4 separate regions of the Homo sapiens genome follow, and regions 2, 3 and 4 are each linked to region 1. The links are contacts of gene promoters, found by promoter capture Hi-C in blood cells and fetal thymus (Javierre and others, 2016). All regions are on one chromosome and are shown on one strand. Each heading gives the region's core, a stretch centred on a gene start or on the middle of the fragment in contact. The rest is flanking DNA. Distances are from core to core; before and after follow the strand shown. Region 1 holds the start of ZNF354B (zinc finger protein 354B). Region 2 holds the start of LOC124901224 (U4 spliceosomal RNA). Region 3 overlaps COL23A1 (collagen type XXIII alpha 1 chain). Region 4 overlaps COL23A1 (collagen type XXIII alpha 1 chain).

What was found. The method cuts DNA at HindIII sites, captures the fragments that hold promoters and counts their contacts. A CHiCAGO score of 5 or more calls a contact.
Region 2: a contact is called between a fragment that was not itself captured here and the fragment with the promoter of ZNF354B in region 1, in 3 of 17 cell types (endothelial precursors, M1 macrophages and M2 macrophages). The highest score is 10.4, in endothelial precursors.
Region 3: a contact is called between a fragment that was not itself captured here and the fragment with the promoter of ZNF354B in region 1, in 1 of 17 cell types (monocytes). The highest score is 5.0, in monocytes.
Region 4: a fragment that was not itself captured here is called in contact with the fragment with the promoter of ZNF354B in region 1 in 1 of 17 cell types (neutrophils); the score reaches 5.1 in neutrophils.

The regions. Positions count from the first base shown.
Region 1 is chr5:178,857,505-178,861,637 of GRCh38, reverse strand. It overlaps ZNF354B (zinc finger protein 354B), which reads right to left and starts at 1,685. Exons shown (of 5, transcript NM_058230.3): 1 at 1,511-1,685; 2 at 558-641. The coding sequence starts at 590. RefSeq lists silencers at 1,119-1,198, 1,279-1,478 and enhancers at 1,619-1,818, 1,103-1,835. The HindIII fragment of the contact is 7,869 bases long and covers 1-4,133 here.
Region 2 is chr5:179,489,175-179,493,307 of GRCh38, reverse strand. LOC124901224 (U4 spliceosomal RNA) reads left to right here and starts at 1,151; the gene lies at 1,151-1,293. The HindIII fragment of the contact is 5,384 bases long and covers 1-4,133 here.
Region 3 is chr5:178,275,304-178,279,436 of GRCh38, reverse strand. All of the region lies in intron 5 of COL23A1 (collagen type XXIII alpha 1 chain), which reads left to right. Among named protein-coding and RNA genes, the nearest start is that of PHYKPL, 45 kb to the right of the region's middle. The HindIII fragment of the contact is 3,526 bases long and covers 362-3,887 here.
Region 4 is chr5:178,309,604-178,313,736 of GRCh38, reverse strand. All of the region lies in intron 2 of COL23A1 (collagen type XXIII alpha 1 chain), which reads left to right. Among named protein-coding and RNA genes, the nearest start is that of PHYKPL, 79 kb to the right of the region's middle. RefSeq lists an enhancer at 626-1,128. The HindIII fragment of the contact is 6,207 bases long and covers 1-4,133 here.

The DNA.
Region 1 (4,133 bases), core at 436-2,935:
TCTGTTCACTCTCGTCTCAACTAGAAAGGGTGGCCTCCTCATTCCCACTACACAAAAATGAAAACGGTCTACAATAGATTTCAAGACAGTGATACAAGCAAAGAATATGATTCACAAAGTTAAGAGGGACAAAAAACTAACAACGATGCGTTGGAGAAGCCTGGGGAAGGGGTGGTGTTATGAGGATTCTCAGGGGTGAAAAGAGAAAGTATTCCTGCGAAGGACAGGAACGGAGACATGGGTGAGTGGAGGAGGCAGGGATTTTTCCCACGTGTGTACGTTTGCTCTTAGTGACAGACAGACTTGTGGTATCTTACTTGTCAAACTAGTCACACAATGGATGAAGATTCGTGAACAAACTGTTAATTAAAAACCACTAGACACGGGTGGGGAGGGTGGGTGGTCCTCCCTACAGAATCCACCAGTCATGAGGGCGGACCAGCTCCTCCAAGAGAAAAGGACTTGGGCTCCATCCTGGCTGGAGATGGTCCCGGGTGAAGAACTCCAGTTAGTGGGGAAAATCCATCCACTGGGATCTGGGAGGGCAATGAGCTCACCTGGGGCCTCGCTTCCCGCTGCCCAGCAGCCATGTCCTCTTTCTGGCTCTCCCGGGAGGACGGCGCAGTCTCCAGAAGGCAGATCTGAGAAGAAAAAGGGAGCCAGGAAGAACCCCTTCTGCTTTCCAGCCCTGGAATCCGCAGCTCTAAAACCCCGACTCCCGCTGAGAAGGACCCCGCGCGCCCTCACAGGGATTCGGGAGGAGCCAGGAGCCCGCGGACCAGAGCAGCGCTGGGCCGCCCGGCCAGGCCCAGGCCCCACAGGCTTGGGGCTTACGGAGGGGACGCTGGACCCGCAGTGGCAGCAGCGACCCGCTGAGCCCACCAGGGCCAGGGCTCGCCCCACGCCGCTGAGTTCCTCGGCGCCAGCTGGCACTGCCAGCACCCACTGCACCGCTCAGGAAACTGAGGCAGCGCCGGGGCACCTGCCCCGTTCACGCCGCTGCGAGGCGGGCCGGGACTCCCACCACGACGGCCCCGGGACGACTTCCCTCCGCCTCAAGCCTTTCCCAGCCGGTTCCTCTCTCTCCCGCCAACGAATCGTCTCCCGACTCCACGGAAAACGGCTTTGAAGAGGAAAGCGCTGGGTGTCCCGAGGCAGGAGGAGTGGCCGTCCTGGGGACTGACTCAGAAACCGGGCCCGGCTGCCTCTGCCCTGCGCTCGGGGTCCCGGCGCCCCGAGTCCGCGAGGCCCACACGGCGCGCGCAGGGTGGGCCCGGGAGGAAACGCCTGGCCCCGCGTTCACGGCGGGCGGCGCGAGCCAGAGGCAGGGGCGTCGGCAGCGGCACCGGAGCGGCCCGTGAGGGGCGAGAGTCCAAGTCCTGGCGCGGGGGCCGGTGACAGACGCGGGGGTGCCCCCCCGCGCCCACAGAGGCCCTCGGAGCCCCGCGGCCTCAGGTCGCCCTGGCGCCAGGCGCCGCCTCCTCCCGGCACAGCCAGCCATGCCGCTCACCTCCCCAGGATCCCGCGTTCCCGGGCCGCGCCTCCCCGCCGCACTCTGCAAGCAGGAAGCTCCAGCCTCGTGACCCGGCTCCTCCGACGTCTGGGCGACCTCAAGCCCGGCGCCGCTCACCGGGCAGCGAAAGCTCCGCAGAGCGCCTGGGACCTAGAGGAGCAAGGCGGCCGCTAAGGCCTCTAGGAAATGGAGTCCACGGGAGGACGCTGGCTTTCTGGGAAGTGTAGTTCCACGCGTTTGAGGCGAGGTCGCAGCTGAGCTGTTAGGCGCCCAGACCTATGAGAGGGCCCGGGTGAGCTGTAGAGCCCCGGGTTCCTGGTTCTTCGGAAGAGAAGGGGAGGTTCCCGGAGGGCAGTAACTTGCAACTCTGTGTGTGAATTTCAGGATGGCGTGGGCGGCACGAAAACAACTACTACACAATTGGGAAAGGAAAATCCCCTGCAAAAGATGTTGACAAAGCTGGATTTCCACGTGCAAAAGATGAGCCTGTACCCTGACCGTACACCATACATAAAAATTAACTCAAAATTGATTAAAAACCTAAATGTGAGACCAAATTATTTTATAAATTACTAAAGTAAAAAGGGAAAAAACTTCAGGATGTTGGAGATGGCAATGATTTCTTGAATATGACATCAGAAGCACAGATAACAGCAAAAATAGACAAATGGGACTACATCAAACTTAAAAACTTTGGCTAATCAAAGGAAACAAAGGCAATCTACAGAATAGACGAAAATGCTTACATATCATATATCTGATTTGCAATGTATCCTGGATTTATATGGAACTTTTACAACTCAACAACAATAACAAAACCAAATAACCTGATTTTAAAATGGACAAAGGACTTGAATAGGCAATTCTCCAATGAAGATATACAAATGAGCAATGAGCAACAAGCATATAAAAAGATGGTAAACATCTCTAGGTATAAGAGAAATATAAACCCAAACTCAATGAGAAATCACTGCACCTCCATTAGGATGGCCACTATCAAAAGGATGTAAATTGGTACAATCATTACAGAAAACGGTATAGAGGTTCCTCAAAAAATTATAACTAGAGCTACATTAGGATCCACCAATCCCATTTCTGGCTATAGATCCAGAGGAAGTGAAACTCCGTGAGATACCTGCACTCCCATGTTAGCTGCAACATTATTCACCATGGCCAAGATATGGAAACAACTATCTGTTGATGGATGAATAGATAAAGGAAATGTTTTGTTTGTTTGTTTGTTTGGGACGGTGTCTTGCTCTGTCACCCAGGCTGGAGTGCAATGGCGCAATCTTGGCTCACTGCCACCTCCGCCTTCCAGGTTCAAGCAGTTCTCTGCCTCAGTCTCCCAAGTAGCAGGGATTACAGGCACCCGCGACCACGCCCAGCTAATTTTTGTAGTTTTAATAGAGATGGGGTTTCACCATCTTCACCAGGCTGGTCTTGAACTTCTGACCTCGTGATCCACCCTCCTCGGCCTCCCAAAGTGCTCGGATTACAGGCGTGAGCCACCGAGCCCGGCCACAATGTGTTTATATACACAAAGGAATATTATTCTGCCTTAAAAAAATAAAGAAATCCTGACATATGTGACAATATGGATGAACCCGGAGGACATTATGTTAAGTGAAATAAAGAAGGCACAGAAATACAAATACTGCATTATTTCATTTACACGTAGAATCTAAAATAGTCAAAATCATAGAAGAAAGTAGCATGGTGATTTCCCTGTGTGTTAATTACCAATCTTCCCATATAGGTAATTCCATATGGCACAACTGTCCCTTACTTGTAGAGCCACGCCCACCCTGTTGCCATGAACTGCAGGTGTCCTTCCATGGTTGCTTGCCCAGTGCAAGGCCCTGTTATCTCTCTCTACACTACTCTACACTTCCACAAGCTGCTGCTTCTGTTTTTTTTTGTTGTTGTTGTTGTTGTTTGTTTTTGTTTTTGAGAGACGGGGTCTCACTATGTTGCCCAGGCTGGTCTCAAACGCCTAGGCTCAAGTGATCCTCCCGCCTCGGCCTCCCAAAGTGCTGGGATTACAGGCGTGAGCCACTATGCCTGGTGTAAAAAAGATTTTTTAACAAAAATGAGATGTTTTATTGTCTTCTCTTTGCAATTAGAGTGAAAGCCAGAATCCTTGTTGTGGGCCCTAAACCATATGGCTTTTGACTCCTTTTCCAGTATCTACTGTTTTTCTTCTACACTCTGCTTCTCAGCACAAAGCCGAATGTGTTGCTGTCTTCCATAAAAATCCTTCCTCCAGTCGGGTGTGGTGGCTCACACCTGTAATCCCAGCACTTTGAGAAGCTGAGGCAAGTGCATCACTTGAGGCCAGGGGTTTGAGACCAGCCTGGCCAACATGGTGAAACCCCGTCTCTACTAAAAATACAAAAACTAGCCAGGCGTGGTGGGGCACGCCTGTAATCCCAGCTACTCAGGAGACTGAGGCAGGAGACTCTCTTGAACCCAGGAGGGCAGAGGTTTCAGTGAGCTGAGATTGTACCACTGCATTCCAGCCTGGGCAACAGAGCGAGACTCTGTCTCAAATAAATAAATAAACAAATCCTTTCTCAGCTGGGCACAGTGGCTCATGCCTGTAATCCCAGCACTTTGG
Region 2 (4,133 bases), core at 915-3,414, 630 kb before region 1:
CTAGGTTCTGCATATAAACCTTGTGTCCTAGGCTCTGGGTATAAGCCTTGCTTCCTAGGCCCTGGGTATAAGCCTAGGGTCCTAGACTCTGGGTATAAGCCCCGGGTTCTAGGCTCTGGGTGTAAGCCCCGCCTCCTAGGCTCTAGGTGTAAGGCCTGGGTCCTAGGCTCTGGGTAGAAGCCCCGGGTCCTAGGCTCTGGATACAAGCCTTGTGTCCTAGGCTCTGGGTATAAACCTTCTGTCCTAGGTTCTGGGTATAAGCCTTGTGTCCTATTCTCTGGTTCTCAGCCCCTTGTCCTAGGCTCTGGGTATAAATCTTGTGTCCTAGACCTTGGGTTAAACCCCATGTCCTAGGCTCCGGGTATAAGCCCTGTGTCCTTTCTGCATATAAGCCTTGTGTTTCCTAGGCTCTGGGTATAAGCCCCATGTCCTAGGCTTTGAGTATAAGCCCCATGTCCTAGGCTCTGGGTATAAACCTTGTGTCCTAGGCTCTGAGTATAAGCCCCACGTCCTTTCTGGGTATAAGCCTTGTGTCCTAGGCTCTGGGTATAAGCCCCATGTCCTAATCCCTGGGTATAAGCCCCGGGTTCTAGGCCCTGAATATAAGTTCTGTGTCCTTTCTGGTTATAAGCCTTGTGTCCTAGTCTCTGGGTATAAGCCCCATGTCCTAGGCCCTGGTTATAAGCCCCGAGTTCCAGGCCCTGGGTGTAAGTTCTGTGTTCTTTCTAGGTATTAGCCTTGTGTCCTAGGCCCTGGGCATAAACCTGTGTCCTAGGCCCTGGGTATATGCCCCAGGTTTTAGGCCGTGGGTATAAGCCCCAAGTCCTAGGCTCTGGATAGAAGCCCTGGGTTCTTGGTCCTGGGTATGAGCCCCATATCCTAGGTCACCAACCAGATTGAGAGCCCAGTCAAAGTTCTTTCTCATGGTGTGTCTAGGACGTCAGAAAACCTAGAGATGTGGCCGGACTCTGAGCCCCCTGAAAAGGGTTCCCAGACCTTTTGTGAGAGGGAGGCTTTGTCTGCCCAGAGCCCACCTAGTCTTGGAGTCTTGGAAGGCTGCCCGGCACCTCAGGTAGGCCTGTTTGCACCTCAGCCTCACCCTGGTCTGGGTATCCACTCCATACAGACATGTTTTTAAAAATTGAGGAATAGCTTTGTGCAGTGGCAGTATCATAGCCAATGAGGTTTATCCGAGGCGTGATTATTGCTAATTGAAAAATTGAGGAATAGTTTAGTAAAACACACAGATCTTAAATATATAATTCAATGGCTTTTTACAAATATCTATCTGTAGCCAACACCCCAATCAAGGCAGAAAACATTGCCACCATTGTAGAAAATTCCCCCCAATCCCTTTACAGTCTACTCAACTTCCCTTGTCCCCTAATCCCCAAGCAGCCACTATTCTGATTTGCATTCCAGAAAAGTAGTTTTTCTGGATTTTTTTTTAACTGACTTTCGCTCTTGTCGCCCAGGCTCGAGTGCAGTGGCGCAATCCTGACTCACTGCAACTTCCACCTCCTAGGTTCAATCAATTCTCCTGCCTCAGCCTCCCAAGTAGCTGGGATTAGAGGCGTGCACCACCACGCCTGACTAATTTTTGTATTTTTAGTAGAGACGGGGTTTCACCATGTTGACCAGGCTGGTCTTGAACTTCTGACCTCGGGTAATCCGCCCACCTCTGCCTCCCAAAGTGCTGGGATTACAGGTGTGAGCCACCGTGCCCAGCCTGGTTTTGAATTTAATAAATCTGTATGACATCCTTTGTATGGCTCCTTCAGTTCAAAACACTGTGTTTTTGTTGTTGTTGTTGTAGAGATGGAGTCTTGATCCATTGCCCAGCCTGCTTTCAAACTCCTGGGCTCAAGCAATCCTCTGCTCTTGGCCTCCCAAGTGTTGGGACTGCAGGTGTGAGTCATCGCACCAGCCAGAGTCCAATCGTGTCTCTAGTGAGAGCAGCCACTTTAATATAAAGGCTCAGGAATTCCTCCTCATGTTTGCTGCAGTGGCACTTGCCCTCTGAGTATCAGTTAGCTATTGTCACACTTATGCTGTGTAACAAACCATCCCCACATCTCAGTGGCAAACAGTAATAATCATTTATTTCTTACTCATGAGTTTGTGGGTTGGCTGGGCAGCTCTGCTCCACATGCCTCTCATCCTCTTCCTGGGACCAGCAGGGGCAGTTTCGTCTCTGGCTGATGGCAGGGCCCTGAGAGACGGCACATCTAACCCCACAAACACATTTCCAGTTTTGCTGTGTCATGCCTGCTGGCATCCCTTTGGCCAAGCCCAAAGTCAAGGGGTGGGAAAGGGAGGCTATGGCGAGGGTGTGAGTGTGGGTGAAAAACTGGGGCGGGTCATTCAATCTATGTTACCAGTTTCCTGACAATGTAAGTTAAGAGAAAGAGCTTTGTGGCTGACGCCTGTAATTCCAGCACTTTGGGAGGCCGAGGTGGGCAGATCACAAGGTCAGGAGATGGAGACCATCCTGGCTAACACGGTGAAGCCCTGTCTCTACTAAAAATACAAAAAATTAGCCAGGCGTGGTGGCGGGCACCTGTAGACCCAGCTACTCGGGAGGCTGAGGCAGGAGAATGGCGTGAACCCGGGAGGCGGAGCTTGCAGTGAGCTGAGATCATGCCACTACACTCCAGCCTGGGCGACAGAGCGAGATTCTGTCTCAAAAAAAAAAAAAAAAGGTAAAACTGGTTTGGTTTGCTAGTCCAATTATTTAGTGAATCAGTCCAGTTTATTAGAAATCCCAATGAGGTTGTTTTCAGAAGTGAGACAGGTCTGACCGGATCATTTGCAGAAAGCTCTGTTCTTGCTTTGGGACAGTCCTGCCCGCACTGGGAATGTGAATTTAATCGCCGTTCTCTCGCCGCTGCTCCTGCCCGCCTGGGACCAATTCCCTACCACACTGAGCTCATTGGAGACTTTAGTTTCATATTTTTAAGACCAGTTTAGTGCATCATCTCTGTCTTTATTTCTCCCTCCAGCACTTACTGTAGTTGATCTCTTTTATTTTCTTAGATTCTTTGGGGGGAGTTTATAGGTGGGATGAACCCATATATGCATGAAAATGTCTTTATTTTGCACCCCCAATTTAAGGCTAGATTGGCTGGGTCTTGGATCCTAGATTACGAATAGTTTTTTCTTTGGAATGTTAGAGAAATTGCTCTACTATCTTTTAGGATTCGGGATTGATGATAAGTCTTGATGTCAAGCTGACTTTCATTCTATTGTGACAACCTATTCTCTCGGTCAGAAAACTATGAGGATTTTCCTTTTTTCCTTGGTATTCCAAAATTTTGCTGCAATGTGCCTAGATTTCTAAAATTCCACTTTACTTTTTTTTTTTTTTTGAGATGGAGTCTTGCTTTGTCATCCAAGCTAGAGTGCAGTGGGGTGATCTCAGATCACTGCAACCTCCGCCTCCTGGCTTCAAGTGATTCTCCTGCCTCAGCCTCCCAAGTAGCTGGGATTACAGGTGCGCCACCATGCCAGGCTAATTCTTGTATTTTTAGTAGATAAGGGGTTTTGCCATGTTGGCCAGGCTGGTCTTGAACTCCTAGCCTCAAGTGACTGTCTCAGCCTCCCGCTTTATTTAATTAATTTATTTTGAGACGGAGTCTCTCTCTGTTGCCCAGGCTGGAGTGCAGTGGTGCAATCTCGGCTCACTGCAAGCTCTGCCTCCTGGGTTCACGCCATTCTCTTGCCTCAGCCTCCCGAGTAGCTGGGGCTACAGGCACCCGCCACCATGCCCGGCTAATTTTTTTTGTATTGTTTTAGTAAACACAGGGTTTCACTGTGTTAGCCAGGATGATCTTGATCTCCTGACCTCATGATCCACCCACCTCGGCCTCCCAAAGTGCTGGGATTACAGGCGTGAGCCACCACACCTGGCCATGAGTTCCCTGTCCTTCTCAGGGACAGGGAGTCAGTGATTCCTGGGGAGACTGTCTTTCTTCTCTGGACCAAGTATTCGCACTTTCTATATCAACTGGGGGCAAATGCTGTGCGATGCTGGTGACCTTGCTGATTTATTCCCAGAACATGATGCATTTCCTTCCCCTTTCTTTCCCTTTTGTGCTACTTCTAATTAAGGAAGATATTTCTGTCATTTATGG
Region 3 (4,133 bases), core at 875-3,374, 580 kb after region 1:
GGAGCAGTGAGTTCCACATCACCAGGGGTGTGCGAGCCAAGGCTGCACATCCTCCGGTCAGGAAGGGCATCTGTGGTGGGCACTGGAGCCATGTGGCTGGTCACTGTGGGAGGAGAGGTGGCAGGAAGACAGAGCAGTGAGTCCATAAGTGAGAAACTGGCGGGGGCGGGAGCTGAAGAAGGCTCCTCAGAAGAGGTGACACGTGAGTCTGGAAGGAGGCGCTCAGGAGGAAGAGGTTGTCCTTGAATGCCAGGCCAGGGGTACAGCTTTGCCCTGAGGGCAGTGGGTGAGGGTGTGCCAGGTGCTACAGCAGCCAGAGGAGGGGCAGTCAGCAGGCAGGGCACAGGGCTCGAGCAAAGCTTTGGGCTGGTGTCCTGGCCTCTCCGAGCTCCAGATCTTCATCTGTGAAATGGGGATGATGAGGCTTCTGCCTGGCCGGTCTGTGGTCAGGGCCAGTGACATCTAGATAGGGAGGGAAGGGCCCACATTGCTTCAGCTCCACTCTGTTCCCTGGCTTCATTTACCCCAGGGCTGGCCCAGCGCGTCACAGCTGCTCTCATTAACCCACCCTTCCCCTGCTGCCTGCTGTGAGCCCAGATCCAGGGAGCCATTCCATCCGCAACACACTCAGTTTGCAGAGGAGGAAACGCGCTCCAGGGAAATTCAGCAGCTCACTCCCAGGTCTACGGGGCAGGACCTCATCATCAGGATGTACCCTGCTCCTTCACTGTGCAGGAAGGATGGGTATGTGGGGCAGGAGGTAGGGGGCCTGGCGGAGGCTGGCCCAGGAGGGTGGGAGGACTGGAGAGATGGACCTGAGCTAGAATTGCAGGCTCACGGGCTCACTGACGCTTGCAGCCGCCGGCAAGTGAGAAAATAGATGAGGCTGGTTGGGCGCAGGAGAGCAGAGAAAACGGCAGGGCCTGGGGTGAATCGGGGCACCCGCCCCATCGGGGTGCAGTTCCGCACATGCAGTCATCACTACCACATCTTCCAACATTTCCAGAGAAGCTGGAAATCCAAATTCTATAAAAATCCTTTGCATTTTTAAGGGTTTCAACCAGTTCTTTACCAGTGGGTGACAATTGTCTGTGGAAACCAAGGAGGGCCCACCCCACAGCCTAGGGGGCAGCTCTCAGGGAGGCTGGGAAACCAACCATGCCCCAAGGGTGGGGCAGGAGGGCAGAGCTTGGCCTGGGCATGGTCCAGGGGCCACAGGGCGAGGCAGAGTGACTGCAGCTTCAGTGTGTGCTGCGAGCTGTCCTGGTCACGCTGTCTCCCTCTAGACTGCCTCGTGGAGTTTGGCCACGCTGTGGCGGTCACCCTTCTGTGAAGGTCACACTTCCCGTCAGCTGCTGCTCCCTACTCTGGATTTCCACCCCATCCACGGCTGGCACCAAAATGAGCTGATGGTGTGTTCCCCCAGACTTCCTTCCACCAGAACAGCCCTCTGTGCCTGAGCTGGTGACCTGGGCAGCTCAGTCAGACACATCCCGGCCCGCCGGTCCCATCCTCCATCCTCCCTCACCCCACGGGGGTCAAGCTCTTTCCTCTCTGCCACCTTAATGAGGAACAGTATTTTCTGATACCTGACAGGGTAATCATGTCTCTCCCCACCAGTCATGGGCAAATGTGTCATTTCAGCAGGTATTTTTGGGATCGGTTCAAAGGCACAGTGCTGTAAACACCACCTCTGCTAGCCATGATGTGTGACATGGACATACATGTAATTACTTCCAGCACACTCAGGCATCACCGAGCAGGTCCTCTCCCCAAAATAGAAGCCAGCCGGTTTCACAGCCTCACAGCATCATAGAGCTGAAAGGGCCCTGGGAGACTTTCTAGGCCAAGGGTTACAAATCAGATGCCCTGCAGAGCTGGCGAGTCACCTCGCCATGGGCAGCAGGCTAGGCGTGAGACCACAGGGAAGGGTGGAGCCTGTGGACCAGGGTCTGCGAGATCTCCCGGCTTTTCAAGAAAAGCCCAAACTCTGGACGTTTATGTAAAAGGTTGCAATTTTTAAATGTGACTAATTCATTTGGTTTGGGGTTCTTTGTTTTTTTGTTTGTTTGAGACAAAGTCTCGCTCTGTCACCCAGGCCGGAGTGTAGTGGTGCCATCATAGCTCACTGCAGCCTCAACCTCCACGGTTTAAGCAATCCTCCTGCCTCAGCCTCCTGAGTAGCGGGAGCTACAGGCATGTGCCACCACACCCAACCTTTTTTTTTTTTTTTTTTAGAGATGAGGTCTCACTATGTTGCCCAGGCTGGTCTTAAACTCCTGAGCCAGGGTAATCCTCCTACATTGACCTTCCAAAGTGCTGGGATTACGGGCATGAGCCGTTATGCCCAGTCTGGGTTCTTTTAACTGCACGGATCAAATAAAACCTGGCTCCCAGAAAGACATTGCCCAATTCCAGCCCCTCACACTACAGATGAGCAGCACAGAGGGCAGCAGCCCAAGCAAGGCCAAGGAGCACATGAGGGGCAAGTCTCTGACCTTGGTGCAAGCGCTTGGGACCCCACCCAGCTGAAGCTCCTACAGTTTGCTGAGTTGAGGTGCATAGGTCACTACAGAGCCCACTCTACAAAATGCCCTAGGTCCCAGGAAGAAGTGCTCCAGGAGGAACATTGTGCCACCCTCAAGGCACCAGCAACAGCTGGGCTGAACCTAACTTTGAGGGTCTTTTCTTCCTTTCCCTAGCACAAAGAATTTGAGTTTGGGAAATTGCTAAGCCCCGGACAGTCTTGCTGCAGCCCATGTGTGTACAAAGAGCCTAGGCTGAGAAATCAGAACCGTATGGTGCTGACCCGCCCTGAAGGGGGCTGCCCACCCACCCCTTATCCACCAGCCGGCTCTAATGAGAGCTGGGAGGAGGCTCAGGGAACCTTCACACAGGAATGTGCACTTCCCAGGCTGGGACCTCAGGCCCCACCAGCCTTGTAATTTGATGAATTGTCAACATCTGGGGTGTAATTACTAGGTCCTGGCCTGATAATCCTGGTAAGCCCTTCTTCCAGGGGCCTTGTCCTAGTGCATTTTGAGGGCTCCGTTCCCTCACAGGAACCGTCAGCATTAATTACAGCCAGAAAGCAAGACAGGCCCCCAGCTCTGGCCGATTTGAGCGTTTACTCCTGTCTGCTTCTAAACGCGGCCAGTTTATTTGTTTGGTTCAGTTCAGCAGATGCTGGAGCCGATCTTGGGGAGTGCTGGGCCGCAGTCAGGAGGACAGGGCCAGCCCTGGACCTTTCCCTAACATAGAGCAAGAAGAGCAGCACAGGCTTTTCCCGGCAGATGAGCATCAAGACACTCCAGGGATGGAGCCACCATACTCCACATCCCGAATGTACTTCACCAGGAAACCTCCCCTCTGTAGCCACACGGTTATAGGACCACCAGTTTCAAATGCCCGCTGCGTTAGTACCAGGCCAATTACACTGAGACAGCAGGGTTTGCTGCAGAGAAAGAGTTTAATGATTGCAGGGCACCCAGCAAGGAGATGGAGGAGACCCTCAAATCCATCCCCCCAAGGAGTTCTGGGCCAGGGTGTTTAAGGGGATCATGGAGGGTGAGGGGCTGGAAAATTGGGGTCATTGATCGGTCAGGACCGGGGGGCTGAAATCAGCAGGATGTGGAGACCGCACTCCGGTGAATCAGCTCCCGTGGGATCCTTCCGACCAGCTGACTTTGTAGTTTCACTGGTGTGCAGGCTCTGAAAGAGTAGGGAAAAGGTAGTTTTTTACGTTCAGATTGGTATCTACGGAGCAGTTAAGGGGAACCATGACCCTGTAAGAGAACCTGCGCGATTCTGAGGCAGCAGGAAAACAGTTCCGAGAAGGGGTCAGGGAGCACGCTGACCTCATGATGATGCTGAGTGTGCCACAAGCTTGGTTTATTTTTGTTCCTCCCCCTCCCTTCTTCCCTAATTAACTTTATAACGTTTATAGGGCTGGTTTCAACACTTGTTAATATGCCTCAAAAGATGGCTCTGTGAACCCGGCTTAGGAAATACGCGACAGGCCGAGGGAGGGAGAGAGCAAAGCCTCAGCTTCACAGGTGGCAGAGCTGGCGGCACCGTCCAGGGTCCTGCTGCCGGCCTCTTGGAAGGCCACACACGGGTCGCTCCCAGCACTG
Region 4 (4,133 bases), core at 428-2,927, 550 kb after region 1:
CTGGGAAGAGGGTCATATAAAGGGGCTTCCAGTGGTGTTGAGAAGGACCAGGTCTGAAGGGACACTCGACACGTGGTGGGATGAGAAAATCTTGGCCATGGTCACACTGGAAATCACACACAGATGTTCAGGGGACAGACTCCGAAGTCACACAGACCCGGGTTCCAGTTCCAGTTCCGCCATTTCTCCACTGTGTGACCTTGGGGATGCCATCCTCTGTGACTCCACAGTGCCGGGCTCCTCACACGGGACACTGCTGTGGCTGCCAGCAGCATCCCCACAGTCTCCATCAGGACGGCCCGGCTCACAGCCTCGCTCAGGGGTAGCTGAGACCCCTGGGGTGTTTGTTTTGTTTTCTTTAATTGTGATAAAATACACATACCATAACATTTCCCGTCTTAACCATCCTTAAGTGTACACTTGAGTGGCATTCAGTATGTTCACATTGTCACGCACCCGTCACCACCACCATCCCTCTCCAGAACTCTTCATGTTGCAAAACGGAGTCTCTGGGCCCACCGACTTCCCAGTCTCGCCTCCCCTAGCCCAGCCCACCGATGGCACCCCCTATTCCACCTTCTGCCCCTGTGAATCTGGCGACTGCAGGAGCCTCCAGAAGTGGAATCCTTCCGTATTTGTCTTTCTGTGTCTGGCTTACTTCCCATCGCGTGACGTCCTCCAGGCCCATCATGCTGCAGCGTGCGCAGGAACTCCTTCCTCTCCAGGGCTGACTCACGTCCCGCTGTATCAGTGCACGTTCTGTTTGCTCATTCTTCTGTCCGTGGACGTTTGGGTTGCTTCCACCTTTTGGCTGTTGCGCCTGGTAGTAATTCTTGACTTCTGTGGGGCTCAGTTCCCCTGATCTATAGGAAGAAAAGAGTAGAGAGAAATGAAAGCACTTCACAGACTGTTGTGTGGATTCCATGAACCCCCTGTCCTCAGGGGCTGGCTGAAGGGAGGATCAGGGTTGGGCTGAGGGCGGAGCAACCAGTCAGGAGCCCACAGGAAGCAGCCAGGCCAGTAGGGTGAGAGGGAGAGGCCTGGGCAGGCTGTCCCCAGTGCGGCTGAGGTGGGGTGGCTGCAGGTTTGTGAAGGGACCTTGATAAGACGGGCATTGCTAGAGGGGACGTCCTTGGGGAGGGAGGTGCCGGGAGGGCTGGGCGGGGGGAGCCACTTAGAGAGCCAAATCCTTGCAGCTCAGGCCTCAGAGGAAGCCTGTTGGGGTTCGAGGCCCCCCTTTGGAGTTGATCAGCGGCGTGAGTTCTCCACCCCAACCAGAGATGAGATTTTTATGAGTTAGAAATGGTTTCCTTTTGTCTGGCCTCCAACAGTGCTGAGAAAGCCGTAGGCCTCCCTGGAGTTGTTTACTGTGCTGATGCTGCTCTCAGACGTCCAGAGTCATTGGGCAACGAGCTGGAGCCCTGGCTGGCCTGTGCTAGACCTGGCACCCTGAAATTTCATTGAGAAACCTCATTCCCAAAGAGCTCAGCCTCTGCATTCTCATCCAGAGGTTCACAGACAGGCAGTGATTAGGGACACGGGAAAGCTCCCGGCTTCCCACGGGGCTGCCCTTGCACTTTGCTCAAAGTGCAGTCAAGGGCTCCGTCGGCGTCTCAGCACCTCGAACCTGCCTGCAGTGTTGCTGAGGTGCAGTCACTGTGTCTCCAGCTTCACCCACCTGGGGACTCATAAGAACCAGTTACGCAGGCCGGGCGCGGTAGCCCACACCTGTAATCCCAGCACTTTGGGAGGCCGAGGCAGGTGGATCACCTGAGGTCAGGAGTTCGAGACCAGCCTGGCCAACATGGTGAAACTCGGTCTCTACTAAAAATACAAAAATTAGCCAGGCATGGTGGCGCGTGCCTGTGGTCCCAGCAGCTCGGGAGGCTGAGGCAGAGGAGTCGCTTGAACCTGGGAGGCGGAGGTTGCGGTGAGCCGAGATCACGCCACTGCACTCCAGCCTGGGCAACAGAGTGAGACTCCGTCTCAAAAAAAAAACAAAACAAAACAAAACAAAAAACAGTTACACAGTGGCTCAGGCCTATAATCCCAACGCTTTGGGAGGCCATGGTGGGATGATCACTTGAGCCCAGACGTGTGAAGCTGCAGTGAACTGTGATCACGCCACTCCAGCCTGGGTGACAGAGTGAGACCCTGACACACACACACACACGAAAGAACCCACTTACATTAAAGCCCCGCATTACACACACACACACACACACACGCGCACACACACACACACACACACAGAGGAAAGAACCCACTTACATTAAAGCCCCGCATTGTGATGGCCCAGAGGCCCCTGCAGCCAGTTATTTCTTGGGGTCCCAAAGAAGCACCCCTTTTGTACCCCAGGCTGGTGTGTCTGCTGCCAGCTCATCTGGTTCATGATTCCGCAAGGCAAGTCTAGTTGCCACCACTCCCAAACCTCTATCCTCCCGAGTTGGAAACTCTAAGGTTCAATGAGGTTGAGTAAGTTGCTCAGAAGACACAGCTTCCCCACCAGTCAGGTTCTTCCCCTCCTGCTCTGGCATACCCCTCGCCCCAGCCTCTGAAAAGAAGTTTTGCAGATGCCACTGTGGTGGCACCCACGGTGAAATACTGTCGTTCCCCAGCAGCCAGCCCCTAGCTCAGAGCCGTGTGGGTCCCATGCAGAGTGGGGGACAGTGGCCTTCTCCCAGCCCAAGGTGGTCTTCAGCGCTAGACCCTCTAGCTGGGACAAGTTTTCCAGCAGCATCCGTGGGCAAGACCTGTCCTATCCCTTGCAGCCTCAGTTTCCCCTTCTCCACATGAGCAGATCAATCAAGACAGACTCCCAGTGCCTTCCTGAGTGTCTGAGTCTCAGGCAGCAGCAGGAAAGGTTCTTCTGCTTGTAGAAAGAAGAAAAACAAGAAACAAGCAAAAACTCTGAGGCCAACCACCTGGCCAAAGGCCTGGTTTTGCTTGTTGGAGCCAGGTCTTAGCTGCAGCCAAGCTGGCCCTGCTCTCCCAGGGGCCGGGGCAACCTGCTCCACACCAGGCCCAGATGCCCTGGGGCACAGCCAGCCCCAGCAAAGGGACCACATCCCCAGAGGAACAGCCTCCCTGGTCGCCAAGGCCGCCTGCCCGGTAGCTCAGCATATGGGACACAACTGTCCTTGCACTTGGGAGCCACAGACTATGAAGGGCTCCAGGAGGCTCTAGCAACACAGCCTTAGGTGGGCCCCTTCACCTGGCTTAGCCCCAGAGTTCTCATCTGTGCAGGGAACACTAGCACCTTCTTCAGAGGACTGGCGAGGCAGAAGGTGAGCCTGCGGGGCGGGCACAGGGAGTCCTGGAGGAAAAGGGTCCCAAGTTCATGCTCACTGGGTGAGCAGCCGGCTTGGCACCCAGTAGATGTTGAACCCAGGTCACTGCCCATGGTGGGCTCTCGGCACCTGATAGTCCAGAGACTCAGGAGAGGCCGTCCGTCCTGCCCCCACTCCTGCGGCTCCTGCAATCCAGTCTCCAAGCCCGCCTGGCCTCTCTGTTGGTGGAAGCAGTGGAGTGGGAGCCCACAGTCAGCAGGGAGTGCAGCTCCGGCACACTCGCCCTCTCCCAGGGCCTCACCGCCTGTCTTCTCGCAGTCCGGGAAAGGAAGGGTGGAAGGCACTCCCTATCTCACTGGCACGTCACATCAGACCAGGTGGCCCTGTGTCTCTCCTAAGCCCTGGAGCTTGCTGGACTTGCAGTCTTTTCAGGAGAATCCCAGAAGCAGTGAGGAGACCTGAGGCCTCCCTGCCTGTCCCCTTCTCCCTCCCTCCCTCTCCCCCCCGCCCTTCCTCCCCTGAACACACATCACTTGGTCGTGTCCTGCAGTGGGAGTTGGGGACACAGAGCTGCCTGAGATGCAGAGTACATACTGCAGGAGGTCCTTTGTGCCAGGAGGGAGAATCGAGCACAGCAGAGCGAGTGGCAGAGTGGGGGACTGAGTGCAGGGGCAGCGTTCGCCTGATGCTGAGAAGGAAGGGGTCCAGGTTGGGGGCTGGGGCAGGATGATGCCCGGGGGGGGGTCTCTGGCTTGACTGCTTGGGTGCTGCTGGGACCTGCAGGTAAGTAACAAGGGAGGCAGGGGGCGCGTGGGAAGTCGGGAGGTGAGCTTGAGTTTGGAA